3 separate regions of the Homo sapiens genome follow, and all the other regions are linked to region 2. The links are contacts of gene promoters, found by promoter capture Hi-C in human tissues and cell types (Jung and others, 2019). All regions are on one chromosome and are shown on one strand. Each heading gives the region's core, a stretch centred on a gene start or on the middle of the fragment in contact. The rest is flanking DNA. Distances are from core to core; before and after follow the strand shown. Region 1 overlaps ZBED6 (zinc finger BED-type containing 6). Region 2 holds the start of OPTC (opticin). Region 3 overlaps ZBED6 (zinc finger BED-type containing 6).

Region 1 (4,936 bases), core at 813-3,312, 360 kb after region 2:
ACCTAAAAGATGTTTTTTTGTTTTTTTGTTTGAGGCAGCGTCTCACTGTGTCACCCAGACTGGAGTGCAGTGGCACAATCTCTGCTCACTGCAACCTCCACTTCCCGGGTTCAAGCAATTCTCCTGCCTCAGCTTCCCAAGTAGCTGGGATTACAGGTGCCTGCCACAAGGCCTAGCTAATTTTTGTATTTTTAGTAGTGACAGGGTTTTGCCACATTGTCCAGGGTGGTCTCAAACTCCTGACGTCAAGTGATCCACCTTCCTCGTCTTCCCAAAGTGCTGGGATTACAGGCATGAGCTACCATGCCCGGCCCCTGAAAGATGTCTTTAACACCTACTTTGAGTTATAAAAATGCTTGGTGCTGGCCAGGCAAGGCGGCTTATGCCTGTAATCCCAACATTTTGGGAGACTGGGGCTGGAGAATCACTTGAGCTCAGGAGTTCAAGACCAGCCTGGACAACATAGTGAGGTCTTGTCTCTAATAAAAATCAAAGAAATAAAAAAAAAATCACATGGTGACACACACCTGTAGACCCAGCTACTTGGGAGGCGGAGGCAAAATGATCGCTTGAGCCCAGGAGGTCGAGGCTGCAGTGAGCCATGATTGTACCACTACACTCCAGCCTGGGTGACAAAGGGAGACTCTGCCTCAAAAAAAAAAAAAAAAAAAAAAAAAAAGCTTGATCCCAAATCAGTAAAAGAATTATTTCTTTATGTATGTTCTTAAAAACAAATTTTTGCTCACTTTGTGTCCGTGAGACTAGGTGATTCAGCCAACTATTTTTAAAACGGCAGTTTTCTAATAATCTTTTTTTTCTTACAGTCTTGTGCTGCCTCCAACCCAGTCCTCTTCAGATTCCTCACCCCCGGAGGTGTCTGGCCCTTCCTCATCCCAAATGAGCATGAAAACTCGCCGACTCAGCTCTGCCTCAACAGGAAAGCCCCCACTCTCTGTGGAGGATGATTTTGAGAAACTAATATGGGAGATTTCAGGAGGCAAATTGGAAGCTGAGATTGACCTGGATCCTGGGAAAGATGAAGATGACCTTCTGCTTGAGCTATCAGAAATGATTGATAGCTGAAGGTGGTAGTGAGGACACTTTAAAAAAAAAATCGCCAAAAAACTGGACTTAGTTTCATCTATTGTAACATTTACCTGAGATGATCATTTCTTTAGTCTAGAATTTGCCCCAAATCAGAAGTATACCTCTGAATTATCTGTATGTGTCCTGGATTCCTTGGGGTCAGATTTTTAAAGTTACTTTATAACCATTTTGTCCATTTGATGCCATTGTTTATCATCTTTTGAGAAAAAAGTTCTGTCATACCCTTCTCTCCACAAAAAAGAGACTGAGAGGGAGATCAAGTGAAAGGGTGCAAGCGAACTTAGTGACTCCTTGAGGTGTTTGTCAGTTTTGGCTTTTTTCTTCTTTGTTGTATTCTTTATGTATTGTCTTGATGTACTTAATATTACCTGAGTTTGAAATGGATGAAGACAGCTGCTACCATTAAGGACCAAATTTTATGCTACCACTAAACAAAAATACCCACTCAGTCTGTGTTAAATTGTATGTCTTTTTAAAGGTATTTAAAGATTCAACTAAGCTTTAAAGAGGGCTGAGCAGCTCAGGAAGCCTGTAATGTGGGCATAACTCTTTGGACCTGATCTTGATGCTTCTGCTGCTCTGTTAGCCTCTGAAGAGCAATATCTAATTTATTATTACTGTAATTTTTTAAAAGGCTTTAAAGTGCCTCAGGGGTCCCCTGAAACTAATTTTCTATTTCTGGGATTCCCTGGATTCATTATATGAGATGGTGACATGATTAGAGGAATTCTTTTTTAGTATGAAAATTGTCCTTTTTCTTCTTCAGTACTTGCCTCCTTGCTGGCATTGAATTAACACAGGGACAAAATTTGGTTAATTTTTTATTTCTAACTCTCCCAACAAACCCCTGTTGCCCAGTATTTGTTTGGTGGCCTTTAACCACCTGAGGGAAAAAATGAGCTTATTCAAGCTGCCAATATTTATCTATGGGCTGTAGCAGTACACTGAATTGTACTGTGCCAGGGATATTGAGATGCTCTGGGGGTGTATTGTATACCTGCCAGTTTTCTTCATTTCTGAATTGAGTTTTCTTTTCTTGATGTTGGTTTCCTTCATATCACCTCAAGGTTTAGATTTGTGAAGGAATAAGCATGATGGAAATAATAGTCTTGAAAGGAGATATGTTGTATATAATCAGGAGGAAGAGGAAGGAAGGACTTACCCATTTTGATATTTTGCTGTAGGTGGCCAGTTTTGTTTCTCATAGGGAAATCTGACCCACCTGTCATGTTGGCTCCTAAGGAACTGCTGTTGTAAGCGGCTCATCAAGAGTTGAACTTCACGTAGCCTTGTTGGGAATATGGAAAAGGAAGAAAGCCACAGGACTGCCCATTCAGTCTTGGGAAGATTGGGATGATTCTGCACAAGCAAAAATGACTGAAGTTTATGTATAGACACACCTCTACCAATCCATCTTCAGCTGACTGAATGTTGTATGATAGCCCTTCTCCAAAGCAGAGGTAGAATGTTCAGGTTTCACCATGGATTTTCTACTTATTTCGTTTTTGGAATCAGCTTACAGATTCCAGGTCCCTTTTGTATATATTCTTTATTCTTTTGCTTTTTTAAAAAATAATTTTGTTTCATATTTAAAGCACTTGTATTAGTCAATGTTTCGTGTTCCGCATTATTTGAACCATTTGCCCTTACAGAAAGAGAAATACTTGTTTGTGTTTTAAATAAAACTGATGTAGGAAAGTCTTGATGTTGTGAGCTAAGTAATCTTACATCATCATATCAGCCTGGGATCCATCTTGACAAGAGACCCCAGACAGAATGCTATTGGCCTTTCGTGTAAGTGCCCGAATTTCAGTTATTATTTGGCTTAGAAACCTTTCATCTGGATATATTGCCAAATTTACAAGTGTGCTCAATTTTAGCTGCATATGCTTTAGGTAAGAATTTATATTATTATAATGTGAGGATTTTTTTTCTGACACGGATACTTACTCCTTAGTGTTGTAACTCAAGCAATGCCATTAAGTTTTTAAAAGGAGGGAGGGTTTAAAAGTGATCTTAGGGAGTCTCTCTGGGCCTACTCTGGCTCAAGAGGCTGATAAAAAATAAATAAATGAATAAACTTGATCTTTAGAGTCAACGATTTAGAATTTTCAAGCATGAAGGTGCAGCAGATAAGAAATTTAATTTATAGAAGTCCAGGTTTCTTAATATGTGTGCCAATTTTTAAAATTGTAGGAAAGTATATGTTTGTTAGCTACCAAAGAACATAGATTTTTCCTATTAGTCTAAAAGTCGTCCCAACAAGTTGAATCAACTTTTCACAAAAAGCAAAAGACTATAGTTTTGAATGATAGTTTTTCATTTTAACAGTAAGAAAAGGGCCCAAATATTCCAGTTTGGTTATAGCCAGAAATAAGATAGTTTTATGTTTCATATATTTTATCTCAAGATAATAATTCCTAAAGTTCTAGCCTTAACCCTAAATCTCAGTGGTTCTTCTTTAAAGCTAGAACATAGTGTGTTTTCATCTTGATCAGTATTTGAAAGATGAGACTGATGTTTACTAATTACAATTGCAGTAACAAAGCTTGATCTATTAATATATTGATCAGAGTTCCATGATCCTTTTCTAAAATGGTGGCTTTATTTTGCCAGAATAATTCTGCAGGGTGTTTTTTTTAAGACAGAGTCTCACTCTGTTGCCCAGGATAGAATGCAGAGTGGCACAATCTTGGCTCACTGCAACTCTTGCCTCCCAGTTTCAAGCGATTCTCCTGCCTCAGCCTCCTCAGTAGTTGGGATTACAGGGGTGCACCACCACACCTGGCTAATTTTTATATTTTTAGTAGAGACAGGATTTCACCATGTTGGCCAGGCTGGTCTGGAACCCCTGACCTCAAGTGATAGGCCTTCCTCGGCCTTCCAAAGTGCTGGGATTACAGGTTGTGAGCCACCACGCCCAGCCAACAGTTCTGCAGTTCTGTAAAGTATTTGATTGCTTTGAATTTGGCTGTAGCACAGGAAATACATGGTCTCCAGTTGTAACTGCTTAATAGGTAAAACTTAAATTAGCTAACATTTATTGAGTACTTATTGTGTATCTTTAATTCACGTCCTCATTTTGACACTAAATTATACAGTACATTAAAGATGACTATTCCCGCACTGAAGTTTCAGGGTCAGTATGTTTATATATTATGTGCCATTGGGTTTGATTAGTAGATCTTTTCAAGAGTGTTTTTTAAAATCATGACTTTATGAAGCTGCTCAGTAACTCTGAAAATTCCTACAACCCAGACATTTAACTGCATTAATAATTAAGACTCCAAACCGCAATTTATTTTGAATTTGCAAAAAGATATTAGTTAAGGGGCATGAACACAATTAAAATCCTTGACCATTCTCTTAAGTTTGTTCAATAAAGTGGGCAAAAAATAAGTAATGACCGTAAATAAGAACAGCAATCAAGAATTTAGTTTTACATTTAAAAAAAGTAATTTTGGCTGGGCACGGTGGCTCACGCCTGTAATCCCAGCACTTTGGGAGGCCGAGGTGGGTGGATCATCTGAGGTCAGAAGTTTGAGACCAGCCTGGCCAACATGGCAAAACCCCATCTTTACTGAAAGTACAAAAAAATTAGCCAGGCGGGGTGGCATGCACCTATAATCCCAGCTACTTGGGAGGCTGAGGCAGGAGAATTGTGTGAACCTGGAAGGCGGAGGTTACAGTGAGCCGAGATCAATCACCACTGCACTCCAGCCTGAGCAACAGGGCAAGACTCCATCTCAAAAAAATTTTTTTTGGATTTATATTTACTGAGAGGGTCTGTTACTAAGGTATTTAGATTTGGTTGGATTTAACTGCTAAA
Region 2 (4,592 bases), core at 1,992-4,491:
CCTTGGTAAAGGGAAAGAAATCCATGAATGGATACCTCTGTGTCCTAAGTGTTTGTAATAATGCTGTGTGTCAGGCCTCTGAGCCCAAGCTAAGCCATCATATCCCCTGTGACCTGCATGTGCACATCCAGACGGCTGGTTCCTACCTTAACTGATGATATTCCACCACAAAAGAAGTGAAAATGGCTGGTCCCTGCCTTAACTGATGACATTACCTTGTGAAATTCCTTCTCCTGGCTCATCCTGGCTCAAAAGCTCCCCCACTGAACACCTTGCAACCCCCACCCCTGGCCACCAGAGAACAACCCCCTTTGACTGTAATTTTCCATTACCTACCCACATCTTATAAAATGGCCCCATCCCTATCTCCCTTCGCTGACTCTTTTCGGACTCAGCCCGCCTGCACCCAGGTGAAATAAACAGCCTTGTTGCTCACACAAAGCCTGTTTGGTGGTCGCTTCACACAGACACGAGTGAAACTACTGTGTATGAACAGTATAAAGGAAAGGGCTTTTACCTCTACCTGAGGAAAACCAGAAAGACTCCTACCATGTGAGCTGGCTCTTAAGGGATAAATCAGATTTTGCCAGGTGGATGAAAGAAAAAAAGACGCCACCTGGACAGGAAACAGCATGAGTACAAAGGTAGGAAGGTGTGGAGTCTACCCTGTGGGGCTTGTGTGTCTGAAAAAGAGGAGAGGGTCATGTTCCGGTCATGGAGTGGAGTTATGTGGCTACAAGCCCTCAGCAGGGGATATACCCCTGTCATCCAAAACACAGGAGGGTTCCTGAACTTCCCCGCCTCTCTCTCCCTATCCATGAAAAGGGCAACAACAGGGTTGGCTGGTCAAACTTCTGTCCATACCACCTGCCGCCTCCGATTCATCAACACGCCTTTTGCCTCTCCTAATGAGAGATTAGGATTAGGACGCCTCCCCCGCCTCCTGCTTCCTTTGCCAGGCTCTTGGGGAGCTGGGCTGCCTGGAACAGCAGTCTGCGGGGTTAGCCGTTTCCCCCACCAGGTCACATGTACACATCCATGGACAGCCCCTAATATTCATGAGAACAAGAGTGTGTGACCTGTGAGCTTGGGAAAGCAAGAGGAGAAGTTGGGAGAGGGTCTAGGATGCGAGCCTGAGTCTGGATGTGGCTCCTGCAGGGAGTGGGGGGAGCAGGTGTGTATGCATTGGGGAGGAACGATGGTGGGGGTGTGGCAACCAAGCAGGGATGGCAGGAGCGTATGTCTCTGGGAAAGCAGGGAGGGAGAGTGGGAGCAGGCGGCAGGGAGAGTGAATGAACACTCGCATTTGCATTTCTCCCAGGAATAAATGTGTGGGGTGGGAGCGGGGAGATTGCCTAGGCTGGCTGTGGGGGTGGAGGGCCTCTGGCTGCAAAGCCCAGGCTGTGGAGAGAAGATGGAGGCATACAGCCCGCCAAATGTGCCATCTGCCTACTGGATGCCCTCCAGGATCCAGGGCTATCTTTCCCTCCACCCAGCAGAGCCTCTGATGGTGTCTTTTCCCAGGTGGGGGGCTGCCAGGGGTACAAGAACATGCTCTTCTCTGGTGACCAGGCTCTTGGGCTGAGGGAAGCCCCCTCTTGCACCAGCTGGAGCCCAGGAACACAGCAAGCCAAATGCTGCCCTCGAGGGCCAGGCTATTAGATCTGCCTCTTCACCTGGTGTGCCAGGGCAGAGATGAGTTCTGCCAAGCCATCTGCTCTGAGGGCCTGGAAACACACGGATTCAGGACTCCTGGGGAAGAAGGTGGAAATGGGGAGGGTCATATGAACTAAAGAAAACTCTCTGACCAGGGAGTCAAAAAATCTAGGCATTGGCCCTGGCTCTGTGTGACCTAGGGCAAGTCACGTCACCTCTTTGGGCCTCACTCTCCTCATCTATACCACAAGGACTTGGACTAGATCTTTAGGGGGCCTCACAGCTGGAATTCAGTATCTGGTTGGTGGAAAGGAGTAGGGAACAAGGAGAGTCACTGAGAAACCTGGGTGGGCGCCAGGGCACAGGCTGGCAGAAGCTGGGGAAGACTCCTTAGCCACCCCACCTCTGCCTTCAGCAAGGACTTGCTCGGCAGCCTGCTCGAGGCACCAAGGAAAGGGGAGTGTTTCCAGATGAATGCCGTTGGCCCTCTGTATCTGTGGGTTCCACATCCGTGGATTCAACCAACCACAGATTGAAAATATTCAGAAAAAAAAAAAATTCACAACGTTCCAAAAAGGAAAACTTGAATTTGCTGTGTGCCAGTACTATGTGGAATCCATGTGAATGGAGTGAGGTGTAAGCATTGTGTTTGGTGTTATAGGTAATCTAGAGATGATTTGAAGTACACAGGAGGATGTGCGTAGGTTATGTGCAAATTCACCATTTTATATAAAAGACCTCAGCATATGTGGATTTGGTATCCACTGGACGTGCAGAACCAATCCCCCATGGTTACTGAGGGACGACTGTACATCTCTGAGGGTGCGGGAGAGGATACTTCCCAGGCCCCCGAGACCCTACACAATGTCTACTGGTGTTTATGATCCTTTCTAGGGCCCACCTCCCAATTTCCATTTGGTTTCCTCCTAGCAGATTTAGAGAATTTCCCGTATCCTCATGATCATCATCTGTGAACTTGAAGTTGGCTTTCAAATCCGATCTCATCCCCCATACACCTTCTCTTTGAACTACCTAGGCCTGCAGCTCCTGTCTCTGGTGATTTTATTCAATTATGGTCTCTGTGCTGGCGCTCTAGGTGAGGGTGAAGTGCCTCATTTCCACCTATTTTTATCTTTGGATTCTGGCTATGAAGCTGAAGCCTTGTCACTCTCTGGCTGGAGAAAGAAGCTGCAAAGACAAGCTCTATCTCTCCATATCCCCCGACTCCAGCCTTCTCTGAGGACTCAGAATCTGAGGGATGGGGCCCCTTCCTTGCAGGGGATGGCACTCCCTGTTCCTCAAAGATGTGGCCTTATCAGGAGAGTGGACAAGGAAAAGAAAGAAGGAGCTGACAGAGTAAGAGGAGAGAGAGCAGGAGCTGGAGGTGGGGGGTGAAGCGGAAGGTGGGGGGAGAATTCTCTTTTGTCAAATACAGGAATGGGGCAGGGGACCCCCTGAGGAAAGAGGAGGGGAAACAGCTGGACATCAGAAGGAATGAGAAGTCTGATTGGTCGCAGGCCTGGCCAACTCCTTGCCCTCCCCCGGGCACCACTGTCTAACCCAAGCCCCAGTTCAGACAGCCTCCACCAGAGTCCCCACCTTTCTGGAAGCTGCAGGGCTCTCCATCCAGGATCCAGAAGCATTGAAGGGGTAAGGCTCAAGGTTGAGGCCTCTGGCCATCGGTGCGCAAATGAGGGCAAAGTGTTTGGCTGGGGCAGGGGATTGGGAAGGGAAAATGAAGAGAGTTTAGGCCTCTGGCCAAAGAAGTTGGACAAGACTTTTGGGTGGGCACTAAACTCTCTTAGAAAAATTTTTTTTGAGATTATGTAATTCGTTTGGGGTGAGGTATGGGAGGTAAGGTGAAGAAACACCTCTTGCTACTGCTAGAGGCTTGCCCCCTTGCCCAGCTAAAATTAAGAAAGGGTGGGGAGGTTAACTGGGCATGGTAACACACGCCTGTAGTCCCAGCTACTTGGGAGGCTGAGGCAGGAGGACTGCCTGAGCCCAGGAGGTTAAGGCTTCAGTGAGCTGAGATCATGCCATAACACTCCAGGCTGGGCAACAGAGTGACACCGTCTTAAAAATAGAAAATAAAATAAAAATTAAAAGATAAAAAAAATTTTAAAAGAAAGAAAGAGGGAGAGTCTACTAGAAACTTGTGCAGCTAGCTTTGGGGAGGGCTGTGTTAAGCCTACACTGGGTATGACTGTTGTATACACTTATGCCTGGATACAAAACCACACCACATGCATTTCCTGACCCGTCTATACATATACGAACTACATGAACATTTGTACTCACATGCATATCACATACATACGCAGGCATCTGTGTGCACACACACACAAATATACACAGGTATCTAAGGAAATTTCCAGATGCGTACACACTCATGCAATCACACACAAAGAACTCTTTTATCTGTAATAATCTGTTTCTAAAAAGCTGCATTTAGAAGTATATTTCATAAACTAACATTCTTTTTTACATTGTATGTTTCATTGTAAGTCCATGTCTCCTAAAGAGACTAGGTGCTCCTAGGAAGGGCTGTGCCTCATTCATTCTGTACCCACAGAGACAAGTCCTGTGCCTGGAACTCAATAGACACCCATAAATGTTTGTTGAGCAAATGCATGAATGGATGATCTTTATAAAAAACCACAAGAGTCAACTGGGCGCGGTGGCTCACACCTGTAATTCCAGCACTTTGGGAAGCCAGGGTGGGTGGATCACCTAAGGTCAGGAGTTCGACACCAGCCTGGCCAATATGGTGAAACCCCTTCTCTACTAAAAATACAAAAATTAGCCAGGCATGGTGGGTGCCTGTAATCCCAGCTACTCAGGAGGCTGAGGCAGGAGATTCGCTTGAACCCAGAAGGCGGAGGTTGCAGTGAGCCAAGATCGCACCACTGCACTCCAGCCCGGGAAACAAGAAT
Region 3 (4,979 bases), core at 379-2,878, 320 kb after region 2:
AACCTGCACCTCTGGGGTTCACACCATTCTCCTGCCTCAGCCTCCAGAGTAGCTGGGACCACAGGCGCCCACCACCACGCCCAGCTAATTTTTTGTATTTTTAGTAGAGATGGGGTTTCACAGTGTCAGCCAGGATGGTCTCGATCTCCTGACCTCGTGATCCACCCGCCTCGGACTCCCAAAATGCTGGGAATACAGGCGTGAGCCACCGCGCCCGGCCAGCTCTTAGATCTGACGAAGGAGTTTTTTCTGTTGAAACATTAGTAAGGGAGTGTTATCTACTCAGGATTCCATTTCTCCACACTCTGCCCAACTTTGAGGGCTCTTTGCAGAAAATGATTTGAAAATTAGTTGTGGGCCAGACGCTCACGCCTGTAATCCCAGCACTTTGAGAGGTTGAGGCGGGCAGATGACCTGAGGTCAGGAGTTTCACACCAGCCTGGCCACTATGGTGAAACTCCATCTCTACTAAAAATACAAAAAAAAAAAAAAATTAGCAGGGTATGGTGGTAGGCGCCTGTAATCCCAGTTACTTGGGAGGCTGAGGCAAGAGAATCGCTTGAAACCAGAAGGTGGAGGTTGCAATGAGCCGAGATTGCGCCACTGCACTCCAGCAGCCTGGGTAGAAGAGTGAAACTCTGTCACAAAAAAAAAAAAAAAAAAGCCAAGTGTGGTGGTGGGCACCTGTAATTCCAGCTACTTGGGAGGCTGAGGCAGGCGACTCACTTGAACCCAGGAGGTGGAGGTTGCAGTCAGCTGAGGTCGTGCCATTGCACTTCAGCCTGGGCAACAAGAGCAAAACTCGAAACTCCGTCTCCAGATAAATAAATAAATAAAATTAGTTGCCAAAAAATTGTAAATTCTGCTGTGTCTTTGCATTTCATAGCTACCATTTCATTGTTTCAATTACTTTGTTGCTGGTCTTTCTAAAACCGGTAACAGTTTCAAATATGTTCTTTGGAATATTGATTTTGTGAGTGAGATTGACCTCTAAGCCTTTTATTCCCCTTAAAAACTTTTTTTTTCTGGAGGCAGAATCTTGCTCTGTTGCCTAGTCTGGAGTGCAGTGGCAAGATTGTGGCTCACTGCAACCTCTGCCCCCTGGATTCAAGCGATTCTTGTACATTAGCCTCCCGAGTAGCTGAGACTACAGTTGTGGGCTACCACGCCTGGCTAATTTTTTGTATTTTCAGTAGAGATGGGATTTTGCCATGTTGGCCAGGCTGGTCTTGAACTCTTGACCTCAAATGACTTTTTTTATTATTAAACTTTTTCCTTTGTTGCATATATGTCTGAAAAGTATTCAGATAGCTTTGTCTTTTTCTTTTTTTTTTTTTTTAGACAGGTCTCACTGTCACCCAGGCTGGAGTGCAGTAGTGTGATCTTGGTTCACTGCAACCTCCACCTCCTGTGTTCAAGTGATTCTCACACCTCAGCCTCCTGAGTAGCTGGGACTATAGATGTGTGCCACCATGCTTGGCTAATTTTTATATTTTTTGATAGAGACGAGGTTTCACCATGTTGGCCAGGCTGGTCTTGAACTACTGACCTCAAGTGATCCACCCACCTCGGCCTCCCAAAGTGCTGGGATTACATGTATGAGTCACCACACTGGGCCTTAACTTTCATTTTAAATTCAGGGGTACATGTGCAGGATGTGCAGGTTTGTTACACAGGTAAATGTGTGTCGTGGGGGTTTGTTGTACAGATTATTTCATCACCCAGGTATTAAGCCTAGTATCTATTAGTTGTTTTTCCTGATCCTCTCCCTCCTCCCACCTTCTACCTTCTGATAGGCTCCAGTGTTTGTTGTTCCCCTCTATGTGTCCAAGTGTTCTCAGCATTTAGCTCCCACTTATAAGTGAGAACATGCTGTATTTGGTTTCCTGTTTCTGCATTAGTTTGCTAAGGATAATAGCCTCTGGCTCCATTCATGTCCCTGCAAAGGACATGATTTTGTTCCTTTTTATTGGATGCATACTATTCCATGTTTTGTGTTTTTTTCAGACTTCTGTCTTGTTGCTTCCCATCCTCACCAGCATTTAGTGCTTTCAGTATTTTGGATTTTAGCCATTCTAAATTTTTTTTTTTTTTTTTTTTTGAGACGGAGTCTCACTCTGTTGCCCAGGCTGGAGTATAGTGGCATGATCTCGGCTCACTGCAGCCTCTGCCTCCTAGGTTCAAACGATTCTCCTGTTTTTGCCTCCTGAGTAGCTGGGATTACAGGTGTGTGCTACCACGGCCAGCTAATTTTTGTATTTTTAGTAGAGATGGGGTCTCACCATGTTTGCCAAGCTCGTCTTGAACTCCTGACCTCAGATGACCCACCTGCCTCGGCCTCCCAAAGTGCTGGGATTACAAGTGTGAGCCACTGTGCCCAAATGGATTTTAGCCATTAGAAAAGGAATTTGCAATCCCTAATGATGCATGATGTTGGGCAAGATTTCAAATGCTTATTTTCCATCTGTATACCTTCTTTGGTGAGGTACCTGTTCAGATCTTTTGCCTTTTTGAATTGGGGAGTTGTTTTCTTATTTTTGAGTTTCAAGAGTTATATATTTTGTATATCAGACCTTATCAGTTATGTTTTGCAAATATTTTCTCCCAGCCTGTGGCTTTTTCATTCTTTCTTAAGCTTCTTAACAGAGCTTTCACAGAGCAGACCTTTTTAATTTTAATGAACTCCAATTTAATGTTTTTTTGTTTTTTGTTTTTTGTTTTTTTTTGGATGGAGTTTTGCTCTTGTTGCCTAGGCTGGAGTGCAGTGGTGTGATCTCAGCTCACTGCAACCTCCGCCTCCCAGGTTCAAGCAATTCTCTTGCCTCAGCCTCCTCAGTAGCTGGGATCACAGGCATTCACCACCATGCCTGGCTAAATTTTAATGGTTTTTATTGAAAACCAATTTATTGGTTTTCTTTTGTATTTAAGTTGTTATCCATGTTATTTTTTGTGAAAAGTATAAAGTCTGTGTCTAAAATTATTTTTTTATATGTGGATATCCATTTGTTCCAGTAACATATGTTGAAAAGACTATCCTTTTCCCCTTTGTCAAAGGTCATTTGACTATGCTTGTTATCTGTATTAGTTCCTAGGACTTCCATAACAAAGTATCACAAACTGGGTAGCTACAGAAGTTTGTTGTCTCACAATTCTGAAGGTGAGATGTCTAAAATGTTTTCAGCAGGGCCATTCTCCCTCTGAAGCCTGTAGAGGAATGATCCTTACCCATTCTGGCTTCTGGTGTTTGTTGGCAATCCTTGGCATTCCTTGGTTTGTAGATGCATCACTCCAGCCACATGGTCATCTTCTCCTTGTGTGTCTTCTCATCACATTCCCTCTGTACATGTCTGTCTCTTTCATTTTAAGCTGGCAACATTTTTTGCTAAGATGGTTGCCTGAATCTAGTCACACACCTAATCTCCAACAAACTGTTGCCCACCCATACCCTTTTCTCTACAGAGCATACATTCTTGTTTTTTTTTTTTGCAATATGGATAGAGTGAGAATTTTCTAAATTTTCAAGTTCAGATTCTTTATTCCTTTTTGCTTCATAGTTCTTGCCTCAATATGTCTCTCTCCTTGCATTTCACTGTAAGCAGCAGGAAAAGCCCAGGCTGTTCCTTCCACACTTTGCTTAGAAATCTCCTCAGCTAAAACCCAAGTTCATTGCTTCCAGGTTCTGCCTTCTGCCCAACACAACCCAATTCTAAGTTCTCTGCCACTTTTTAACAGGAATAACCTTTCCGGCCAGGCGCTGGCTCACACCTGTAATCCCAGCACTTTGGGAGGCTGAGGTGGGAGGATCATCTGAGGTCAGAAGTTCAAGACCAGCCTGGCCAACATGGCGAAACCCTGTCTCTACTAAAAATACAAAAATTAGCCATATGTGGTGGTGCAAGCCTGTAATTCCAGCTACTTGGGAGACTGAGGCGGGAGAATTGCTTGAACCTGGGAGGCAGAGGTTGCAGTGAGCCAAGATGGCACCATTGCATTCCAGCCTGGGTGACAGAGCAAGACTCCATCTCAAAGAAAAAAAAAAGAATAACCTTTCCTCCAGTTTCCAATAACACGATCCTAATTTCTGACTGAAACCTCACCATAAGTACCTTAAGTACCTTTAACGTTCATATGCTTTAGCAGCAGTTTCTTCTAGGCCTTTTCTATCAAGTACCTCAAAAGTCTTCCAGCCTCCACCTATGACCCAATAACAAAGCTGCTTACATATTTTTAGATTTTTTTGTTTTTGGTTTTTTACAGCAGCATTCACTTTCTGGTATGAAACTCTAATGGCTGTATATTGTCACATTACATGAATATACCGTAATTTTTTTAAATCATTTGTTTATTTTTGAGATAGAGTCTCACTCTGTTGTCCAGGATGGAGTGCAGTGCATGATCTCGGCTCACTGCAACCTCCACCTCCCGGGTTCAAGAAGTTTCCCTACCTTAGGCTCCTGAGTAGCTGGGACTACAGGTGTGTGCCACCACACCTGGGTAATTTTTGTATTTTTAGTAGAGATGGGGTTTCGCCATGTTGTCCAGGCTGTTCTCAAACTCCTGACCTCAAGTGATCCACCAGCTTCCACCTCCCAAAGTGCTGGGATTACAGGCATGAGCCACCGTGCCTGGCCATATATCATAATTTTTAAAAATAGTCTCCAGTTTTTGAACAGTTAGGTTTCTAGATGTTATTTCATTATTTTCTTCCTTTTCTTTTCTTTTTTTTTTTTTTTTGAGACAGTGTCTCGCTCTGTTGCCCAAGCTGGAGTGCAGTGGCGCAATGTCAGCTCACTGCAACCTCTGCCTCCTGGGTTCAAGTGATTCTTGTGCCTCAGCTCCCCCGTGTAGCTGGGATCACAGGAGTGTGCCACCACACCCAGCTTTTTTTTTTTTTTTTTTTTTAAGAGATGGGGTTTTGCCATGTTGTCCAGGCTGGTCTCGAACTCCTGGACTCAAGCGATCTGCCCACCTTGGCCTCC

Evidence for each region. Contacts are between HindIII fragments. The study calls those that stand out against the background at their distance.
Region 1: a contact is called between a fragment that was not itself captured here and the fragment with the promoter of OPTC in region 2, in 2 of the 25 tissues and cell types used here (hippocampus and spleen).
Region 3: a contact is called between a fragment that was not itself captured here and the fragment with the promoter of OPTC in region 2, in 2 of the 25 tissues and cell types used here (H1 embryonic stem cells and IMR-90 fibroblasts).

The regions. Positions count from the first base shown.
Region 1 is chr1:203,851,317-203,856,252 of GRCh38, forward strand. It overlaps ZBED6 (zinc finger BED-type containing 6), which reads left to right. Exons shown (of 17, transcript NM_001395895.1): 17 at 825-2,808. It overlaps ZC3H11A (zinc finger CCCH-type containing 11A), which reads left to right. Exons shown (of 18, transcript NM_001376342.1): 18 at 825-2,808. The coding sequence ends at 1,083. Among named protein-coding and RNA genes, the nearest start is that of SNRPE, 7.8 kb to the right of the region's middle. The HindIII fragment of the contact is 4,531 bases long and covers 1-4,328 here.
Region 2 is chr1:203,490,912-203,495,503 of GRCh38, forward strand. OPTC (opticin) reads left to right here and starts at 3,242. Exons shown (of 8, transcript NM_014359.4): 1 at 3,242-3,306. It overlaps PRELP (proline and arginine rich end leucine rich repeat protein), which reads left to right. Exons shown (of 3, transcript NM_002725.4): 3 at 1-441. RefSeq lists an enhancer at 549-1,347 and a silencer at 2,735-2,963. The HindIII fragment of the contact is 22,199 bases long and covers 1-4,592 here.
Region 3 is chr1:203,810,499-203,815,477 of GRCh38, forward strand. The region is part of intron 1 of ZBED6 (zinc finger BED-type containing 6); the gene reads left to right. The region is part of intron 2 of ZC3H11A (zinc finger CCCH-type containing 11A); the gene reads left to right. Among named protein-coding and RNA genes, the nearest start is that of ZC3H11A, 17 kb to the left of the region's middle. The HindIII fragment of the contact is 4,767 bases long and covers 1-4,012 here.